Regions from separate parts of the Homo sapiens genome. Here all the other regions are linked to region 2. Evidence: promoter capture Hi-C in 16 types of primary human blood cells and fetal thymus (Javierre and others, 2016). All regions are on one chromosome and are shown on one strand. Each heading gives the region's core, a stretch centred on a gene start or on the middle of the fragment in contact. The rest is flanking DNA. Distances are from core to core; before and after follow the strand shown.

What was found. Contacts are between HindIII fragments. The CHiCAGO score rates a contact against its expected background, and 5 or more counts as called.
Region 1: a contact is called between a fragment that was not itself captured here and the fragment with the promoter of COQ2 in region 2, in 3 of 17 cell types (total CD8 T cells, naive B cells and total CD4 T cells). The highest score is 6.8, in total CD8 T cells.
Region 3: a fragment that was not itself captured here is called in contact with the fragment with the promoter of COQ2 in region 2 in 1 of 17 cell types (total CD4 T cells); the score reaches 5.3 in total CD4 T cells.

Annotation. Positions count from the first base shown.
Region 1 is chr4:82,992,847-82,996,578 of GRCh38, reverse strand. The region is part of intron 1 of LIN54 (lin-54 DREAM MuvB core complex component); the gene reads left to right. Among named protein-coding and RNA genes, the nearest start is that of LIN54, 16 kb to the left of the region's middle. The HindIII fragment of the contact is 4,223 bases long and covers 270-3,732 here.
Region 2 is chr4:83,282,958-83,286,756 of GRCh38, reverse strand. COQ2 (coenzyme Q2, polyprenyltransferase) reads left to right here and starts at 1,959. Exons shown (of 7, transcript NM_001358921.2): 1 at 1,959-2,245. The coding sequence starts at 1,993. RefSeq lists enhancers at 1,827-2,121, 2,317-2,556 and a silencer at 1,927-2,256. The HindIII fragment of the contact is 1,217 bases long and covers 1,145-2,361 here.
Region 3 is chr4:82,848,248-82,852,108 of GRCh38, reverse strand. It overlaps SEC31A (SEC31 homolog A, COPII component), which reads left to right. Exons shown (of 27, transcript NM_001077207.4): 19 at 505-678; 20 at 3,132-3,305. Among named protein-coding and RNA genes, the nearest start is that of SEC31A, 41 kb to the left of the region's middle. The HindIII fragment of the contact is 6,463 bases long and covers 1-3,861 here.

The DNA.
Region 1 (3,732 bases), core at 1,132-3,631, 290 kb after region 2:
CAAAAATTAGCCAGGCATGGTAGCACATGCTCGTAGTCCCAGATACTTGGGAGGCTGAGACAGGAGAATCTCTTGAACCCGGGAGGCAGAGGTTGCAGTGAGCTGAGATCATGCCACTGCATTCCAGCCTGGGCGACAGAGTGAGACTCTGTCTCAAAAAATAAATAAATAAATATTGGAAGCATAGGGGAATGCATTGTATGTTCTGGATTCTTTCTCTACCATACCTTCACAGGTAACGCCTTCTACAGATGAGGTGAACTAAAGCTTCTCAGCTCTTTTAGCCTATGAAGAGCCTCTCTTTTCTTGGAGTGGCCTTCAACATAGTGACGATGAGGTTGCATGTGCTAGTACATGGCTTCCATTCCTAAGAGATAAAATAGCATGATGGATCATGTAACTGTGTGGACAAACCCTTTCCTGCCATGCCCAGTCCTTCTGAAACTTTCTCTTTTTTTTTGAGATGGAGTTTTGCTCATGATTTCGGCTCACCGCAACCTCCGCCTCCCGGGTTCAAGCAATTCTCCTGCCTCAGCCTCCCGAGTAGCTGGGATTACAGGCATGAGCCACCACGCCCAGCTAATTTTGTATTTTTAGTAGAGACGGGGTTTCTCCATGTTGCTCAGGCTGGTCTTGAACTCCTGACCTCAGGTGATCCACCCACCTTGGCCTCCCAAAGTGCTGGGATTACAGGTGTGAGCCACCGTGCCTGGTCCTGAAACTTTCTTTTAGCATAGGCCACCATGCCCTGCATGTGACCCTGATTGAAACAAACAGGGAGGCCAGGAGTAGAGGCTGACGCCTGTAATCCCAGCACTTTGGGAGACCGAGGCGGGTGGGTGGATCACGAGGTCAGGACATGTAGACCAGCCTGGCTAACATGGTAAAACCCTGCCTTTACTAAAAATACAAAAAATTAGCCGGGTGTGGTGGCACGCACCTGTAGTCCCAGCTACTTGGGAGGCAGAGGCAGGAGAATTGCTTGAACCCTGGAGGCAGAGGTTGCAGTGAACTGAGATTGTGCCACTACACTCCAGCCTGGGTGACAGAGCGAGACTCCATCCCAAAAAAAAAAAAAAAAAAAAAAAAGAGATAAGGATGTGTAATCATAAGACAGTCATCTATATTCTGTTCTGTAGTTTATGAGCTATCCTGGCTCTGGAATAGTCTCTGTCTATTACATAGACTCTGGCCAAACCAATCAGACCTTTTTTAAAAAAAAATTAAATTTAAATTAAAAATAAATTAAAATTAAATTAAATTAATTTTTTTCCCCCCAGAGACAGGATCTTACCCAGTCACCCAGGCCAGAGTGCAGTGGCACTATCATACCTCACTGCAGCTTCAAACTTCTGAGATTACACTTTCCTCCTGTCTCAGCCTCCCGAGTAGCTGGGACTTTAGACATGCCCCACCACGCCTGGCTAATTTTTAAAAATTATTTTTTTGTAGAGAAGAAGGTCTTACCATGTTGTGCCCAGGCTGGTCTCCAACTCCTGGACTTAAGCAGTCCTCTTGCCTTGGCCTCCCAGAGTGTTGGGATTACAGGTGTGAGCCACTGAACCTGGCCCAGACCTTTTCTTGTTAGAAGTTTGGACTTTGCTCCTAGTTCAAAGGGAGAGTCCCACTCCTATAATTCTCAGTCTCTTTTAACAGGACAGGTAAAAACGTATGTTCTTCTGACAACAGAACTTCAAAATATATGAAGCAAAAATGTGCAGAAGGGGAGACGTAAACAAATCCACCACCATATTTGGGGATTTTAACACCCTAAAAATTTATTAAGGATATCAAAGATCTGAATAACTCTATCAACCAGCTTTTGCTAACTGACATAAATAGAATACTACCCTCAGCAACTATTAAAAAAAATGTTCTTGGCTGGGCAAGGTGGCTCATGCCTGTAATCCCAGCACTTCGGGAGGCCAAGGAGGGCGGATTGCCTAAGGTCAGGAGTTCGAGACCAGTCTGGCCAACATGGTGAAACCCTGTCTCTACTAAAAATACAAAAAAATTAACTGGGCGTGGTGCCATGCACCTGTAATCCCAGCTACTTGGGAGGCTGAGGCAGGGGAATTGCTTGAACCGGGGAGGTGGAGGTTGCAGTGAGCCCAGATTGCGCCACTGCACTCCAGCATGGGTGACAGGGCAAGACTCTGTCTCAAAAAAAAAAAAATTCTTTTAAAATGCACAAGGAGGATTCACCAAGAGAGACCGTATACTGAGTCAAAAAATAAGTCTCTAATTTCAAATGATGAGAATGTTAAAGAGTATTATGTTCTCTGACAATACTATAATTAAATTAGTAATCAATAATAATAGCATAGCTAGAAAATCTCCAAGTGCTTGGGAATTAAATGGCACACTTCTTTATTATCCATGTGTCAGGTAAAATCACAAGCAATATTAGAAAACATTTGAAGTGAATGATAATAAAAACGTATTGAAATTAATGGAATACATCTAAAGAGCTTTGGGGAAAAGTTTTCATATTAAAGGCTTACTGTAAAAAAGAAGAAAGTTTTAAAATCAATCAATCATTTAAACCAGGAGTTGACAGACTTTTTGTGTAAAGCTCCAGGTAGCAAATATTGGAGGCTTTGTAAGTCATGTAAGTCTGTCATATTCCCCCTTGCCCCAACCATTTAAAAATGTAAATATCAGGCCAGGCGTAGTGGCTCATGCCTGTAATCCCAGCACTTTGGGATGCTGAGGCAGGTGGATCAGTTGAGATCAGAAGTTCAAGACCAGCCTGACCAACATGGTGCAACCCCATCTCTGCTAAAAATACAAAAGTAGCCGGCATGGTGGCATGCGCCTCTAATCCCAGCTACTTGGGAGGCTGAGGCAGGAGAGTTGCTTGAACCTGGGAAGCAGAGGTTGAAGTGAGCCAAGATCACACCACTGCACTCCAGCCTGGGTGACAGAGTGAGGCACTGTCTCAAAAACAAACAAAGAAACAAACAAAAAACCATTTTTAGGTAGGAAGCAATATATAAAGACCATGGGCATCATTTAGTATTTTGGTGAACCCTGATCTGTGTTTCCATCTTAAGATTCTAGCCGGGCGCGGTGGCTCACCGCTGTGATCCCAGCACTTTGGGAGGCCGAGGCAGGCGGATCACCTGAGGTCTGGAGTTTGAGACCAGCTTGACCAACATGGAGAAACCCTGTCTCTACTAAAAATACAAAAAATTAGCCAGGGGTGGTGGCGCATGCCTATAATCCCAGCTACTTGGGAGGCTGAGGCAGGAGAACCGCTTGAACCCAGGTGGCGGAGGTTGCAGTGAGCCAAGATTGCACCATTGCACTTCAGCCTGGGCAACAAGAGTGAAACTCCATCTCAAAAAAAAAAAAAAAGATTCTAGAAAAAGAAGAACAAATCAAACAGAAGCAAAGAGGTAAAGATAATAGTTAATTTAAATAAAAAATGGGCCAGGCACAGTGGTGCATGCTGAGAGGCCAAGCTGGGCAGATCACTTGAGCTCAGGAGTTTGAGACCAGCCTAGGCAACGTGGTAAAACCTCATTTCTTTTTTTTTTTTTTTTTCTGAGACAGAGTCTCGCTTTGTCACCCAGGCTGGAGTGCAGTGGCGTGATCTCAGCTCACTGCAAGCTCCGCCTCCTGGGTTCACGCCATTCTCCTGCCTCAGCCTCCCGAGTAGCTGGGACTACAGGCACCTGCTACCATGCCCGGCTAATTTTTTGTATTTTTAGTAGAGACGGGGTTTCA
Region 2 (3,799 bases), core at 710-3,209:
AGACTCCTGAAAGTTAGGGCTCTACTCTATGTGACTGTTCTCTTGTCCTACAAATTAGCAGAGTGACATGTGGGTACCCATCTCAGTTTCCTGTGCACTTTAATTGGACCAAATATCTTAGGATTGAATCACCTCTGGGCAGGGTCAGCATCATGGGTACATGTGCAGTCACCCAGGGCCTACGCTAAGAAGGACCTTGTACTTGGTTTAATGTCCTGCTGTTGCCATCTTGAAATTCTTAATATATTTTTTTAAACAAAGAGTTTGGACCTATATTGGAAAGTCATGGATGCAATACATGACTGATATTACACCCTTTTCAGGTTTGAGTCAGATCTAAATCATCTCCAATCTAACAACTAGGAGTGTTACTAAATTGCCTGCTGGCCTTTATTCTTTGCAGGCAGGAGAAAGGCTAGGTACCCCCTGCCTCATTGCACCAAAGTGGCCAGGCATCCAACTTGCTGTACTTGAGCCATGCAAGAAGTCACAGAATCATTGTACATGTTTTACAGAAAGGAGCCTAAAGACTAAGTCAACTTCCTAGAATATTAAAATCCAGATGAGTGACTTGCCTAGGGTTACTCAGTGAGAGGTTAAATGAGTTGATACATGTAAAGTGCCTGGCACACAGCGATATACAGAGTTGCTTATGAATAAGAGTACTGACCATCTGAGGCAGGAGGATCTCTTTAGCCCAGCTGTTCAAGACCAACCTGGGCAATATAGTGAGACCTCCTCTCTATGAAAAATTAAAAATTAGCCAGCCACGGTGGCTCGTGTCTGTGGTCCCAGATATTTAGAATGCTGAGATGGGAGGATCGATTGAGCCCAAGAGGTGGAGGCTGCAGTGAGCCATGATCCCTCCACTGGTCTCCAGCCTGGATGACAGAGCAAGACTCTGCTGACCAGACTTTTCAGCTTCAGGTTCTTAGCATCACACATGCTGGTTGTCTACTGATTACAAAAACTCCTTTGAAGGGCTGTCAAATTTAAAATTTTCACTTGTGTAATGAACATCCCTTAACCCTGAATGCGATTTTAATTTACAGTCTTGTATGTGGCCACTTGGTGCCCTTTTTTTTTTTTATGGCTAAACGTGTACGCAAATTCTTCTTTTGGATTCAGTAGGTTTTTCAAAGCTTTTTTTTTTTTTTCCTGGTACAACTGTTCCATATGAATAAACACTATCCTTTTCATTTTATGGAGAAAGCTGATAATAGGGTTAAATTATAGGGGGCCATTGTTTTGAACTAAGTTCCTGCACTAGGTCCCAACAGATCAGACTAAGAATCAAGAGTCACCCATGCTAAAGTTCCAAGTCACCAAACTAAAACTAAGTTGTATCTGACATTCTGAGAAGTCAGGAAAGAGAGACAACAGCCAATTTTCCAACCAGGCCATTTCAAAATGCAATCGTCATGACAATTAAGTTTCCTGTTTTAGTCCTTAACCTGGTGTAACCTAATGTTAACCAATCCGTTATTTCTCTGTTGTTGTTTCCCTGTCCCCGCCTCGCAATGAAAGTAATTTGAAGTGACCAATCCGCTTTTTGTTCTCTGCTTCTGCTTTCTTCAGCCCTTTTTCTGTCTATAAAGCCAACTTCCTCCGCTCGACTCTTTGGAACACTTATTCTATTTTACAGAATAAGGTGTTGCCCGATTCTATTTTTTGTTTGTTTCCTCAGAGACCCCGTTCTGAGTGTTGCCCGATAATGGAACCACAAAGTCAATCAAGATCGAGTTGTAAAAAATTACAACTAAATTTATTGTAATTTTTTTGCCTTTTGCCAATAGAAATCCCTTTTTCATTAAGTATTCCTCCCTAGAGTAAGCGACCACGATGACCCCAATTTCACAAGTAAGGATGAGGAAAGGTTCTGCCCACACCGCCGCCCAGCCTGGCAGACTAGGATTGCATCCTGCGGGTGCCACTGCGCATGCCTGCCGGGGAATGACGTCAATCCGAGCTCGTCCCGGCCTCACCAGCGCCATGCTGGGCTCGCGAGCCGCGGGGTTCGCGCGGGGCCTGCGGGCTGTGGCACTGGCGTGGCTGCCGGGCTGGCGGGGCCGCTCCTTCGCCCTGGCGCGTGCGGCAGGCGCGCCCCACGGTGGTGACTTGCAGCCCCCCGCCTGTCCCGAGCCGCGCGGGCGCCAGCTCAGTTTGTCCGCGGCGGCGGTGGTGGACTCTGCGCCCCGCCCCCTGCAGCCGTACTTGCGCCTCATGCGGTTGGACAAGCCCATTGGTGAGTGCGGGCGGGCGGGCAGCCCGGGAATTTGCAAGTAGCAGCCTCCGAGTCGGCTCCGCGGAGCTGTCCGCGGCGGCCGGCCGGGGCGTGATGGAAATGAGAACCTGAAAGCTTGGGCTTGGCTGCCGGGTGCCGTGCGCCCTGGGGCGAATCACCTCGGGACACTTTGAAATGAGAGCCTGAAAGCTTGAGCTTGGCTGCCGGCTGCCGTGCGCCCTGGGGCGAGTCACCTCAGGACACGCAGTCGGGACAGTCTCCTAAAGGACCCGCCAGTTTCACGTCTGTCTGCATCCTGAGCACCTGAAGCGGGCAAGATAATTCTCATTCCACAAACACTTGTTTAAATGGTGACTCAAGCGGAAGGTTCCGTTCTCGTGGCCCTCCTTCATTTATTAGAATGTTTGATCCTCCCCGCAATCTTGTAAGGCCCACAAAGACAATCCTTAAGACAGTTAAGACGCTGAGGAAACTAAGGCTCCTCGTCAGAGCCAGACCAGAAGAACTCTGTGTTTTGATGCTGAGTCGGAGCTCTTTTACCTGCATCACCCATAAGGCAAAGATTTAATTCATTTGAACGCAGCAGGGACAGCGCTTACGGACTGCCTGTCAGCTTACAATCGCCCCCGACAGAAAGATTTTCCTGACCTTCCTATCTTAATTAACACCTACCAACCTCACTTTCTATCGCTTTATCCGCAATTTTTCTTAATAGCACTCACCACTAACTAACCTTATGCGCTTGTTGATTGATTGGCTTCTCCAGTAGTGTTAAGTGAATTAATAAGTTCCTACTACGTTGTCCGGCCATAGAGATAGAAAAAGCTATGGAAACCCTTTGCTTTCAAGGAACTCTGGTCTAGTTGAAAAAGACTATTTGGTGAGCTAGGAAAATATGGATCAAATATGAGTGATACAAAAGCAAGTGCTACAGGAAAAAGAGAAATTACTGTGGATCCCTTGCTGGAAAGTTTCGAGAAGAAATTATACTCCAAAGGACAAGTTGATTTTGCAGAGGAGGGAAGAGATCTTAGTGCGGGAAGTACTTTTGCAAAGACCCAAGGGTGGAGTGTTAGAACACTAAGAATACGAGCCTGACCTGGAACACCAAGTGGGTGTGGAAAATGGGAAACGAGACTAGACAAGAACATATCTGAAGAAGCTGGATAGCGTGGAGGAAGAAGTGAAGGATGAACTCCAGCCAATCTAGATGATGACATTTGCCATTGCAGTGTATGGAGATGTAGTCAAAGGCCTAGGTACATTTACTCCACTTTTGCCCGTACAAGACCCGAATTAGGCCTTGCTTTTGGTATTCTAGATTTATGCACGACCTATTTGGGATTAGAGCACTAAGTTATAACAATCAGCTATCAAAGCATAAAAGCCTACTGAATGATAGGTACAGCCCTGCCATCATTGGGAAGCTGTGTATGACCCCCATGAGTTTTGGGGCCACATTCACGTTGAGAGGCATGCATTTCCAAGCCCAGTTCCAATCTGAAGCCTGGCTGTAATTCTGTTCTTGGAGTCTGTGGCATGGAGTGGCAGTGT
Region 3 (3,861 bases), core at 281-2,780, 430 kb after region 2:
TCACTGTCAAGAGAACAGCACTGGAAAAACCTGACCCATGATTCAATTACCTCCCACTGGGTTTCTCCCATGACACATGGGGATTATGGGAGCTAGAATTCAAGATGAGATTTGGGTGGGGACACAACCAAACCATATCAGATATTTTCACTCATAGTTCCTCCCATACAGGCTAGAACACAGTTTCTACCTTTAGACATCTGCCTATCATTTTCACTTTGAGTATTTGCCTGTTTTAGCTCACTAGACAAGTATCTGGTAGCTTAAGGATATTTAGGAAAAGGTGGTAACCTTCCTATCCTACCCTATCCATAAGTAAGAGGCCTTCTTCCTCCTTACTACTTTTTCACTTACCTAAATAGTGGCTGTACTTTTCTAGGAGGGATGATAACAGGTACTATATTTTTAGTGGGTTTTAGAAATCTTAGTAACTCTTGATCTTTTCCTGCTTCCTCTCATACATGGTCTTGATATTTCTGTTTGTTACTCATTTTTTTCATTTAGGATCTGATTGAGAAAGTTGTCATCCTGCGAAAAGCTGTGCAACTCACTCAAGCCATGGACACTAGTACTGTAGGAGTTCTCTTGGCTGCGAAGATGAGTCAGTATGCCAATTTGTTGGCAGCTCAGGGCAGTATTGCTGCAGCCTTGGCTTTTCTTCCTGACAACACCAACCAGGTAATTAGAATTGACCATTTTTGTAATGTTTGAGTAAGGTGAGTCCAGTAGATAACACTTAGCATTAGATGTAAACATATTAGTAGGTAGAATGTTTTGGAGCAGTTGAATTTCTGTAACCTGACTGCAGGTAAATGTTATTGACAATTCTTCAGGGATCATTTTAGGTGTATCTAAGCTGTGTTAGAGAGATAGGATAATCTTGCAGTGCGATAGATTCCTTTGTACCGACATAGTATTTTAGGAAAATGAACAGGGAAAAGACCAACTTTTTATTTCTAAAGCCAAATGCTGATTCTTCATACAAAGTTCTTTGTAGGAATATTTTATGTCAAAAAGCTATAAATGTTAATGTTTAATCAAACAAATGGAGTTGTTAACATTTTTAAAATCCCATATGTTCCATCCCAGATAGTATTGAAGTTCATTCTGTATGCCATTTTAGTTTGATACTGTCTGTGGGCAAGTATATTTTTATGTATTCAGAGCAGAGGGAACTAATTAGATTGTCCTTACTTATTGCACAATAAAACTTGGGCAAAACTATACTTGTTTCAATTCAATTCAACAAGTGGGTATAGAATGGTGAATAAGATTGCCAAGATCCTTCCTCTAGGAAGCCTCCAAACTCAATTTGGCTATGGACAAGTAAACATGAGATTCCAGAAGTGTGATATAAGTACTGTGATAAGGGTATTGGTGCTGTGGAACCCAACAAAGGGAAACCCAAACCCAGTTATGGAGCATGGGTAAAAGTACGGGTGAGGTTTGAGGAAACTTTTCCACAACAATATATCTGCATTTTGTGTCTGATGGAGCTTGATTTTGAGCCTTGCAGATACAGTCTTGTCTCTGTACTTTTTTATTAATCACTTTATTCTGTATTTTATGTATTTTTTTAGTCAATTGTTTCTAGTATTTTGTCTGTTTTAGAGAATTATTGATAAATTTCATTGAGTAAAAGTACATAATATTCTCCAGGACTATGGAGGTAGGACTCTCTAGTTGGTTTTGTATACACTTAGCTGTAAGATCCATCTCATTTGTTTCTGAATTGTTGATGGGAATGTTAGATAGAATAGCTGATACATAATCTTTTCCTTTATGGTGACTTTGGCATACTAGTTTTGTTAAGACTTTTTACCTAATAAGTAAAAAGTTATAAGTAAATAGTTATATTGAGGTATATTATAAGAACCTTTATCTTAAGACTAATTTGCTTTAAGACCCGTAGCTCATCTAGCTTAATTCATTTTCAGTACCATTTATAAGCACATCCATTTTCTATACATTATTCTTCATGCTTTTTTTTTTTTGGACTTTAAAGAACATTCTTTAGGCCAAAAAGCATAATTTTGATGTTGTTTCCTATTTATCTCAGTAGACCCTGCCTTTTTTGGTGGGGGGAATACGTCCTGAGACTTTGTGATAGCATTGTAATATATAATTCTCCCCCCCAAAAGGCAAATAAAATATGCCTAAAACATTTAAATGATCCCTTTAAACCTTTAACAAATATATAGGAATGTATAATTTTTAAAGATACTAAAATCTTGCTGAAACATTTTAACACATTGCCTTTTTGTTATTTGTTAATACTTAGAGCATATATAGGGTCACCTCATACTTTTGTAAGTCTCTATGCATGTAGATCTGTATGAGCTACAGATCTGAATTTCACATCTTAATCTTTATTTCAAAAATCTCTTTTAACATTTTCATCTCTTTCTTAAATCACCATTTTCTTCAATAACCACCTTTAGTAGTTGATTCTCTTTGGTGGCCTCTTTTAGTTATAGTTTTTTTTTTTTTTTTTTGAGACGGATTCTTGCTCTGTCGCCCAGGCTGGAGTGCAGTGGTATGTTCTCAGCTCACTGCAAGTGCCGCCTCCCTGGTTCACGCCATTCTTCTGCCTCAGCCTCCCGAGTAACTGGGACTACAGGTGCCCGCCACCACACCCAGCTAATTTTTTGTATTTTGAGTAGAGATGGGGTTTCACCGTGTTAGCCAGGATGGTCTCGATCTCCTGACCTCATGATCTGCCTGCCTCGGCCTCCCAAAGTGCTGGGATTGCAGGCGTGAACCTCTGCGCCTGGCCTTAGTTATAGTTTTTAAAGTAGTTTTGTAATTTATGAGCATTAGGTAACCACAAGAAAACATCAAAAGAGTAGTAATAAGTGATATTGGTCTTGCATAGTAACCATGAGGTAGGTATAACTCAGATCTCTGCCTCAGTTAAATTACAAGTTGCACTGTATGTCATGGACCTTTGGTGCCAGTCTTGAGTAGTAGAAAGCACAATGTCAAATCTGTGTGTCAGGGTCTATTGTATAATACCCAGCATTATGAACAAAAAGGGATATCTTGATGAATAATCTGATTAAGAAAATTAACATGCTGTCATATACCTGGGTGAACTCTCAACAGTCTGCTGTTTTTCCAATCCTTTTTAGCCAAATATCATGCAGCTTCGTGACAGACTTTGTAGAGCACAAGGAGAGCCTGTAGCAGGACATGAATCACCTAAAATTCCGTACGAGAAACAGCAGCTCCCCAAGGGCAGGCCTGGACCAGTTGCTGGCCACCACCAGATGCCAAGAGTTCAAACTCAACAATATTATCCCCATGTGAGTGATATGGTCCAGATGAAGTAGGAACACTTTTGTATTTCTCTTCAAATTGGTGGTTTTCATTTGTTCAGCAGGAGACCTTCTCTGATATGGTAAAACTAGACAATATATTGTTATAATAGATCTATTTTCTAGAATCTTGAAGTTGTATTTGTGATCTACTTTTTGAAATCATCTCTCTCATTTAGTCAAACAGATTATATTTTAAATATGAATTGGTTTTAAGTTCTCTAGGGAGATTTGTTCTATTTCTCTGTCACTCAAAGTTCACTTAAACATGTACATCTACTATTAAAATTTCTATTTGATTCATCTAACAAGCTGTAAAGTAGCAGGAAAAATCTTGGTGATTTGGTTGTTTTATAAAATATTTTTAGAAGATAGTATTTTTTGAGTATTCTTAATCATTAGTATAGGTTTAGGCTTAGTGTATTCTGTATTTGCACAATATGAAGTGTATCCAGAATACAGACTTTTTTTTTTTTTTGGACAATTTAGATATTAGAGAAAAATGAATGACCAAAGGTTTGTGAAATTTTAGATTATGTGGAAT